Regions from separate parts of the Homo sapiens genome. Here region 1 is linked to region 2. Evidence: promoter capture Hi-C in human tissues and cell types (Jung and others, 2019). All regions are on one chromosome and are shown on one strand. Each heading gives the region's core, a stretch centred on a gene start or on the middle of the fragment in contact. The rest is flanking DNA. Distances are from core to core; before and after follow the strand shown. Region 1 overlaps PRKAG2 (protein kinase AMP-activated non-catalytic subunit gamma 2). Region 2 holds the start of CRYGN (crystallin gamma N).

Region 1 (3,731 bases), core at 111-2,610, 260 kb before region 2:
TCCGGCCTGAATGTCTAGGTGGACTTTCTCATGTCAGGGAAGAGAGTCAGTGTGTGCCTACTGATGTCCCTTTGATGATGAGGCCTCCTCTCTCTTTTGGGGGACCGGCACTAGGGATGTAAAGGATGTGGAAGATGCAACTGGGCTACCCCAGCAACTTTTTCTGAAAATTAAACTTTTAACCTTTGCTTCTTTCTTAGAAAGCATTCTGCAGAACACCACCCTCCAATCGAACTCCCCGCACAGGGGGAAGTGTTCTGTATCCATGCTGTCCATCTTGGTAGCCACCAGCCACATCTGGCTGTTGAGCATTGGAAATACGGACAGTGCAGCTGGATTAGCACCCAGGGCTACCATACACAACAGAGCACCACACACCGGGTGGCTTCAAACAGCAGAAACTGACTCTCTCACAGTTCTGCCGGCCAGAAGGCTGAAGTCAAGGTGTGGGAAGGTTGGTTTCTACTGCAGGCCCTGAAGGAGAACCTGCTCCCCACCTGCCTCCTGGCCTCTGGCAGTTCTCGGCAATCCTTATTCTTTTTTTTTTTTTTTTGAGACAGAGTCTCGCTCTGTCGCCCAGGCTGGAGTGCAGTGGCGCAATCTCGGCTCACTGCAACCCCCGCTTCACGGGTTCACGCCATTCTCCTGCCTCAGCCTCCCGAGTAGCTGGGGACTACAGGTGCCCACCACCAGGCCGGCTAATTTTTTGTATTTTTAGTAGAGATGGGGTTTCACCGTGTTAGCCAGGATGGTCTCCATCTCCTGACCTCTCGATCTGCCCGTCTCGGCCTCCCAAAGTGCTGGGATTACAGGTGTGAGCCACCACGCCCGGCCGGCAATCCTTATTCTTTGGCTTAAAAAGATGCACCGCTCCAATCTCAGCTTCCATCTCCCTGTGTATCTGTGTCCACGTTTCCTCCTCCTTATAAAGACACCGGCCACTGGATGAGGACCCACCCTAGTATGACCTCATCTCAACTTGATTATATCTGCAATGACCCTATGTCTAAGGTCACATGCACAGGTACCAGGGTGAGGTTTTCATTGTATCTTTTTGGGGAGACACATTTCAACCCATAACAGCAACTAAGGAGCTGAACTTGAATTTTATAAAGAAATAGCTATGTGAGGCCAGTGGCTGCCTCTTGGACAGCACAGGTAGAGACTGGAGGGAGAAGGTGGCTAATTTAGTGTTTCTGTTCAGACCTCCTCCTCCCCCGGCCCAGTGACGCAGGCCTCAGGTCTGGGTCAGGTGCCTGCTCCAGTGGGGCTTCCCTGGGGGGCAGCCCCTGAGGAGTGGGAGGTGGAAGGGGGTGGACTCTTGTGCCTGACAGCTGAGGGGAGGAGAGGACAGGCGTCTGCTGGGTGCTCGTGTGTGCAGCACATTGCATGACTCAGTTGGCACATCAAGGCTGCATAATGCTCTGTGGTCTCGCCTGTGTGGAAATGCCTGGGACATCCTGTGTGATCCCTGCTCGGATTTCCCGGGCAGGCTGGATGGGTTCTGCATGGATGTTTGACCTCTAAACGGGCAGGCCAAGCACTGAGGATTATTTGGGGTTCGGCACAAGGCCAGGCTCCCCCCGTGTGGAGGGGATGGGTGTGGGAGGTTAAGGGAACTATGGCCTGGCCACATAAGGGGAAGCCTGGAAGCTACCGTCAGCTTCTCCAGGGCCTGGGACGCGTGGCGGAGATAGCCCCAGTCTTCTCCCAGAACTCAGATGATCTCCTACAGCAGGTGGCTCTCAGGGTGTGAGCCCCAGACCGGCAGGCCTGGCATTACCTGGAACCTCATCAGAAAAGCCAATTTCTGGACCTCCATCCCAGTTCCCAAATCTGAATCTCTGAGGGTGGGGCTCAGAAATCCACAGATTCACAAGCCTGCGTTAAAAAGGGGGTCCTGATTCTTGCCAAAATTCGGAACCCCTGGCCTACAGCCGCGTATCTCACCCTGACGTGTCTGTCGGTCACTGAAGAGTCTTGTCAAAGGGCAGATTCAGGCTCCGTAGGTCTGGGGTGGGGGCCTGGAGGTCTGCGTGTCTAACAAACAGGCTGCTGGTCCTCAGACCATACTCCAAGGAGCCAGAGTCTACAAACCTGAGCTCCACGAGGGCTGGGCTCTTCTCTGTCGTGTTCACTGTCCCCAGCACCCAGAACACAGCCCGGCGTATAATACGCCTCTTTCTTTTCTAGCCACTCAACTTAAAACACTGCTGCAGAAGGAGCTGCTAAACGTCACCCCCGATTTCCCTTGTTGGGGAGGAAACATCATTTTGCAATGATGCAATGACTTATTCAAAGACCTGTTTCCTATGAGATGACAGGACAAAAACCACATTGCCGAGAACTCCATCACCAGATTTCAGTGGAACTATTTCATTAATCTTGTATGCAGCAAAATGTTGGCAGGTACACAAGGCTCCTGTTGAGGCTGTTTCTGCAATGTGGGGGCACCCATCTGCGGCCGCCTGTGGCAGCAGAGCACTGCCCCTCTACTCCCTTCTTCCTCCGCTATGTACCCCAGTTTATCTTAGTCCCAGTCCTTCTTAAAGACCAGCCTATATCAAGAACCTCCCCACTGCCTCCTCTGAGGGCCTGAGCACCTTGCTGTGTCCCAGCCTCCTCGTCCTGCTTTCAATGATTGATGAAAAGATTGACGTGTCCTCCATCAGATGCTTCCTGCACTGTCTTAATGGCTCATGCATTTCTTTCTGGCCCGTAGGCTGGGTTCTGTTACCCCAAGCCCAGGCACTGCATATCCCACTTCCAGTTCTTCCCTGTACAGCCGGTGCCCAGTGAATACTTCTCATCTCATTGATTCACTGATTTATTTCAAAGCAAAAGTAGTCTGAAAGGCCCTTTGCCATTTCTTAATCATAAAACTAAACATCTCCAACAGGAAGGAGGGGCCTCCTGTGCTGGCCTTCATGATAAAGTCGCCGAGATGATCTCAATCCCAGTGAATTCACGGCTCCAGGGCCACCTTAGCGCCTCTTTCTCAGCAGGGGGCTGAGATGTAACCGGATCGTAACCACACAGGCATCCGGCCAGCAGTCAGCATCTCCCGGAGATCTGCTGGGACTAGGCCTGCAGGCAGCCTGACCGCAGGGAGGGAGGCAACCTTCGTGGGAGATCTTCAGAAATATTGTTCATTCGGTTTCTCAAGAGTCTCCAACTACAGTGCAGTTTAGCTTTCACAGCTTACATCCCAGGTGTCAAAGAGACACAACTTGGGGCAGGGATGGGGACAGAGGTCAGAGAAGGAAAGGTGGCCTAAGGGCATTGAGGGGTGCTCCCCAGAGTTTGCAGACTGGCTCTGCAGACTTGCAGGTCATTTCCTGTACCCTGTCCTGAAACCCTCCCACGGCCCGTTTGAGCCTATCAGTCATTTACACTGTAGCGAGAAGTTACCTGATTTCAGGACCTTCTTGCAGAGGTGGGTTTTCCTAGGGTTCCACGTGGCATCTCAGGGTGGCTTGGAGTGGTCCAAAGAGCCAAGTCCTTGCATCTGGATAGGTCTGCAAGGGGCTGACGCTGGTATCCATTGCACCCATTCCCCTGCCTGTAATGTGGATTCCCTCAAAAGCAGAGCTGGTGACAAGGGTCAGGGAGTTGGTTTGGGAGATTGTGTTAGTCCATTTGTGTCACTATAAATATCTGAGTTTGGGCAAATTATGAAGAAAGGAGGTTGATTTCAGTTCACAATTCTGTAGGCTGTAGGAGAAGCATGG
Region 2 (4,065 bases), core at 176-2,675:
GTCATAGAGATACAAGAAAATCAGCAATTTTATCCTGAAAACATGAATGCAGTGGGTTGTGTCTGCTTGGCTACAGAAGAGTGAGATCTCTCTCCATCTTTGCGATCTCTTAGGGGAGAGATCGTGATGCAGATCGCATTCCAGTTTAAAGTTTATTCAATAATAAAATTGTTTTTTTTTCCTTCTACCTTCGTGGAGAAGTTTTCTGGGTTGGCTGGAGATTTTGTTTTTAATTTTATGTCCCCACCAGGGCCCAGGTCCAGAGAGAAACATTGGAATGTGTGGCTTGGCAAGTAAGGGCGCCAGTGGAGGCAGCTGGGCGGCGTCCCTAGGGAGGGGCGTCCCTAGGGAGGACCGTCCCTGGGTTCAAGGGTGACATGCAGGTTCTGGTTTGTACCCTGTCTACTTTTGAAAACCTCCCACAGCAGAGGCAAGGTCACCCCTCTGCCCCAAGAATCACATAACCTCCTCTTCCTGGGCCTCAGTGTCTCATCTGTGAAATGGTCATAAAAATATACTGTTTGAAGGAAGAGCAGCCCAAACTCCTCCCCAAAGCTCCTCCCTCCCCTCCAGCAGAAGCCCCTGTGGAGCACCTGCCCCTCTCTCCTTTGATCTCAGAGCCTGTCCCCCACCACCCCAGCCATCTGAGTCATGAGTCCTGTGTTCCCAGCTCATCTCCCCAGCCGTGTGGGGGCTGCACATCCTGTGGGCTCCATGTTCGCTCTGCTCACTCCACAATCTCTGAGCCTCTGCTGTCTGCCAAGTGCTCGTTCTGGGCCCTGGGGAACTCTCCCTCCGCGGTGGGGCTGCTTTGTGCTGTAAACTGATCCTGGGCGTCCAGGGTGGCTTAGTTGGTGCAGCAGAGAGGCAAGGGGCAGAGCACTGTACCCCCAGCTCAGGGCAGCGCGGGTCACCTGGTCACCCTAGGCAGGATCTTCAAGGAGAGAGGGACCCAGGGAGGGAGAGTGCCAGGGAGGGAGGCAGGCAGGAAGAGAGCGGGAGGAGGGAGGCCTGACCTGGCCTGGCGTTTTGTGGGGTGTGGGGGGGTGCATCAGGAGCTGGGTGAGTTGGAGCCGGAGGTCTAAGGTGGGGACCTGGGAGCTCAGACCAGAGCAGCCAGGGGAGGGGCGGTCAAGGGCTGTCTGTCTGTCCGGGGAAGCTTGGGTTGCATCCTCGTGGAGACAAACAAGTTGGCACCAAGGCGAGACTACCTGCAGCCAGGTGAGAAAGGGGAGTGGGCTGGGGAGCTCGGAACAGGCCTTGGGAGGGAGGGAGATGGGCGTGAGGGCTGAGGGGCAGCGCAGGGGAAGAAAGGTTGGAGGGCTAGAGAGACACCTCCCCTCCTCCCCCCACCACTCCAGGGCAGGGCAGGGGCAGCCGCGGGCTGGGCGGGAGGGCTCAGGGAGGAAGGAGGCTCGGGAGCTAAACGCGGAGAGCACAGGGAGACCCCGGGCAGGGCGGGCTGCACTCGCGGTGGCACAGGGTGGCCGCGGCGGGTCCCAACCGCCTGGTGGCCCCTCGGGCTTAGCACGCCCGACAGCACTAACGCTCCGGGGCCGGCCCAGCAAATCTTTTGTCCGGGGCGGCGCTGAGCCAGCAGGGCGCTGCCCGGTGTAAACGGGGACCCGCGGAAGGGGCGGGGCGCACCATGGCGCAGCGCTCGGGGAAGGTGAGTGCGTCCCTCAACCCCAAGGAAACCGAGTGGGGCTCCGCCTTCGCCCCCTGTGCTAGGGGATGCAGGAGGGTGCACACTGTTGATGGTGACAAATCCAAGGGAAGCTGGTTTAATTTCTTAATAAAATGGGGTGGCCTCGCTACTGGCCTGGGGCCTCTCTGGTGTGGATGGATAGGAAGGTCTCCATCTCCACTCCTTCCTTCTGGGATTCCAACCCCTCGCCCTGCAGTCAGGAGCAGGGAGGGTGTTCAGACTCCCTGGGGCTTCCTTGGGGTGGGGGAGGCTTGGCTTGTCCCACAGCCCTCCGCCCCACTGCTGCGGCTTCTTTGCCCAAGGCTGGCCTCTATGGCTTTTCCTTCCCAGGGTCTCTTCAGGGACACTTAGGGCTGGTTCTCTGAAAAATGTTGAGATTTGAGGGAGCCCCGAATCCCTTTGGTGCCCAGACCTCCCTGAAGGTTTCAGGGGCCCTCTACCAGCCGTGCCTGGTGCAGGAAGGACGGGAGACCTGGCTCTCCCTCGCCCTCTCCAGTGCCCCTAGCCTAGCCACTCCCATGAAGCCTTTGGTCTCCAAGGCCACATTCCAGAGTGTCTGGGGGTGACTGTGTTGCTGTATCAGTCTGCATGGGCCAGGTGATGCTTCAGTAACAAAGGGCCCCAGTAACTCTGGGGTGCAGAACGCCAAGGTGTCTGCCTCCTTTCCGGTGAACGCATGTGGCCACGCCTGACTCCAAGGGGCCTGGAAGGGCAATTCTCGTGTTCTTTTGAGCGAACTGGAGACACTGGTGAGGCACAAGCGACCATAGTGATGGGGAACATCACTGCACTCTGGCAGGACCCTTCTAGGGCCACAGTTCTTGAAACCCAAAGAGTTACTAAATGGTTGAGATTTTAGGTTCCACAGCAGGAAATGAGTCTGGCGGGTTGTTATTGCTTCACTTTGTTTTGTTTCGGGACAAGGACAACCTGTGAGTGCCACGTAGCTATAAGACACGATGTCTGAACTCCCAGCAGGGTGATGGAGCTCCAGATCTGATACATGCCTGCTACCCAAAGGAGTGACCTACAAAACACAGAGAGACAGGGTGGCACTTATAAGCCCTCTTTTGCGAACATTAATCCCGAGCCAGGCCCTGACGCGGCTTCGGCCCATTCAGCCTCTCCAGTGAAGGAGGCCCAATCCCAGGAACCCGAATTTCTGCAAAATATATGCTGGGTTACCATGAGAGGGTTGTGGGTGAAATTTCTTCTTTTGAAAACACCTCCTTTAATGTTATTATCGGCTTTATGTTTTAATAATTAAAAAATGAGTTAAAAATGCAGTGGAAGTTGAAAACAGCCCATTTTGAAATGGGCACCTAGACAAAGGGGAAACCCCTGTCCCCAAATCGCTGCTGAAATTTGTCTGCCCCACTGTGAGCTCCTAAGGGTGGGGAGGAACAGTAGCTGTGTATGGCATCAGCCTGCCAGCTGTTCGTTCTTTTGCCCAATTGGCAAATAGTGTTGGGCACCTACTGTGTGCAGCAGGTCTGGGCTTTTGGGGGCCTGGGAGTAGGGGTTCCATCCAGGGTGTTGGGACCCAGACGCCAGCCTCCAACGCTGACGGAGAGAAGCCCCTGACCCTGAGCTCTGTAACCTGCCCTTTCTAGATCACTCTCTATGAAGGCAAGCACTTCACAGGGCAGAAGCTGGAGGTCTTCGGGGACTGTGACAACTTCCAGGACCGGGGCTTTATGAACCGAGTGAACTCCATCCACGTGGAGAGCGGAGCCTGGGTCTGCTTCAATCACCCCGACTTCCGGGGCCAGCAGTTCATCTTGGAGCACGGCGACTACCCCGACTTCTTCCGCTGGAACAGCCACAGTGACCACATGGGCTCCTGTCGGCCTGTAGGAATGGTGAGTGGGCCCGTCCACCGAAGGCTGAGTCTTCCTGCTGGAGGGACCGAGGGTCAGCCCTGGCAGACAGTGGCAAGGAATCGGGGAGCGTGGTCCTCCCGGCTTTAAAGTCTGTAAGACTGAAGGAGCTATACCCAGAGCCACCTGCTGGCATGAGGTGAGTAGGTGGGGGGCCAAGTTGCTATGAACTGAGTGGGAGTGGCCCTGAGTTTTCATACAGGTATCAATAAACCACTTTAAGTTTCGGAGCCAAAAATCTAGCTGCATTTTCCATTTAAAATGCTGTTGAAATCATCCAAATTTAGATTTCCAGCCAGATAGGGGACACTCCGCCAATGGGAGGCTGATTTGGGCCTAGTGTGGCCACTAGTACAGGTGGTCTTGTGGCACATTCTGGAGCCTTCCATGTCTTGGAATGGCTGATGGAGGAAGCTGAAGAATCACCCGCCTGTCAGGGGAAAATTGGGGGGCAGGTCCCTTGGAATTACACAGGTA

Evidence for each region. The method cuts DNA at HindIII sites, captures the fragments that hold promoters and counts their contacts. A contact is called where the count stands out against the background at its distance.
Region 1: a fragment that was not itself captured here is called in contact with the fragment with the promoter of CRYGN in region 2 in 2 of the 25 tissues and cell types used here (H1 embryonic stem cells and bladder).

What each region holds. Positions count from the first base shown.
Region 1 is chr7:151,698,665-151,702,395 of GRCh38, reverse strand. All of the region lies in intron 3 of PRKAG2 (protein kinase AMP-activated non-catalytic subunit gamma 2), which reads left to right. Among named protein-coding and RNA genes, the nearest start is that of PRKAG2-AS2, 110 kb to the left of the region's middle. The HindIII fragment of the contact is 7,961 bases long and covers 1-3,731 here.
Region 2 is chr7:151,437,501-151,441,565 of GRCh38, reverse strand. CRYGN (crystallin gamma N) reads left to right here and starts at 1,425. Exons shown (of 4, transcript NM_144727.3): 1 at 1,425-1,669; 2 at 3,322-3,570. The coding sequence starts at 1,649. RefSeq lists enhancers at 397-933, 1,645-2,145, 2,146-2,646, 3,008-3,857. The HindIII fragment of the contact is 10,973 bases long and covers 1-4,065 here.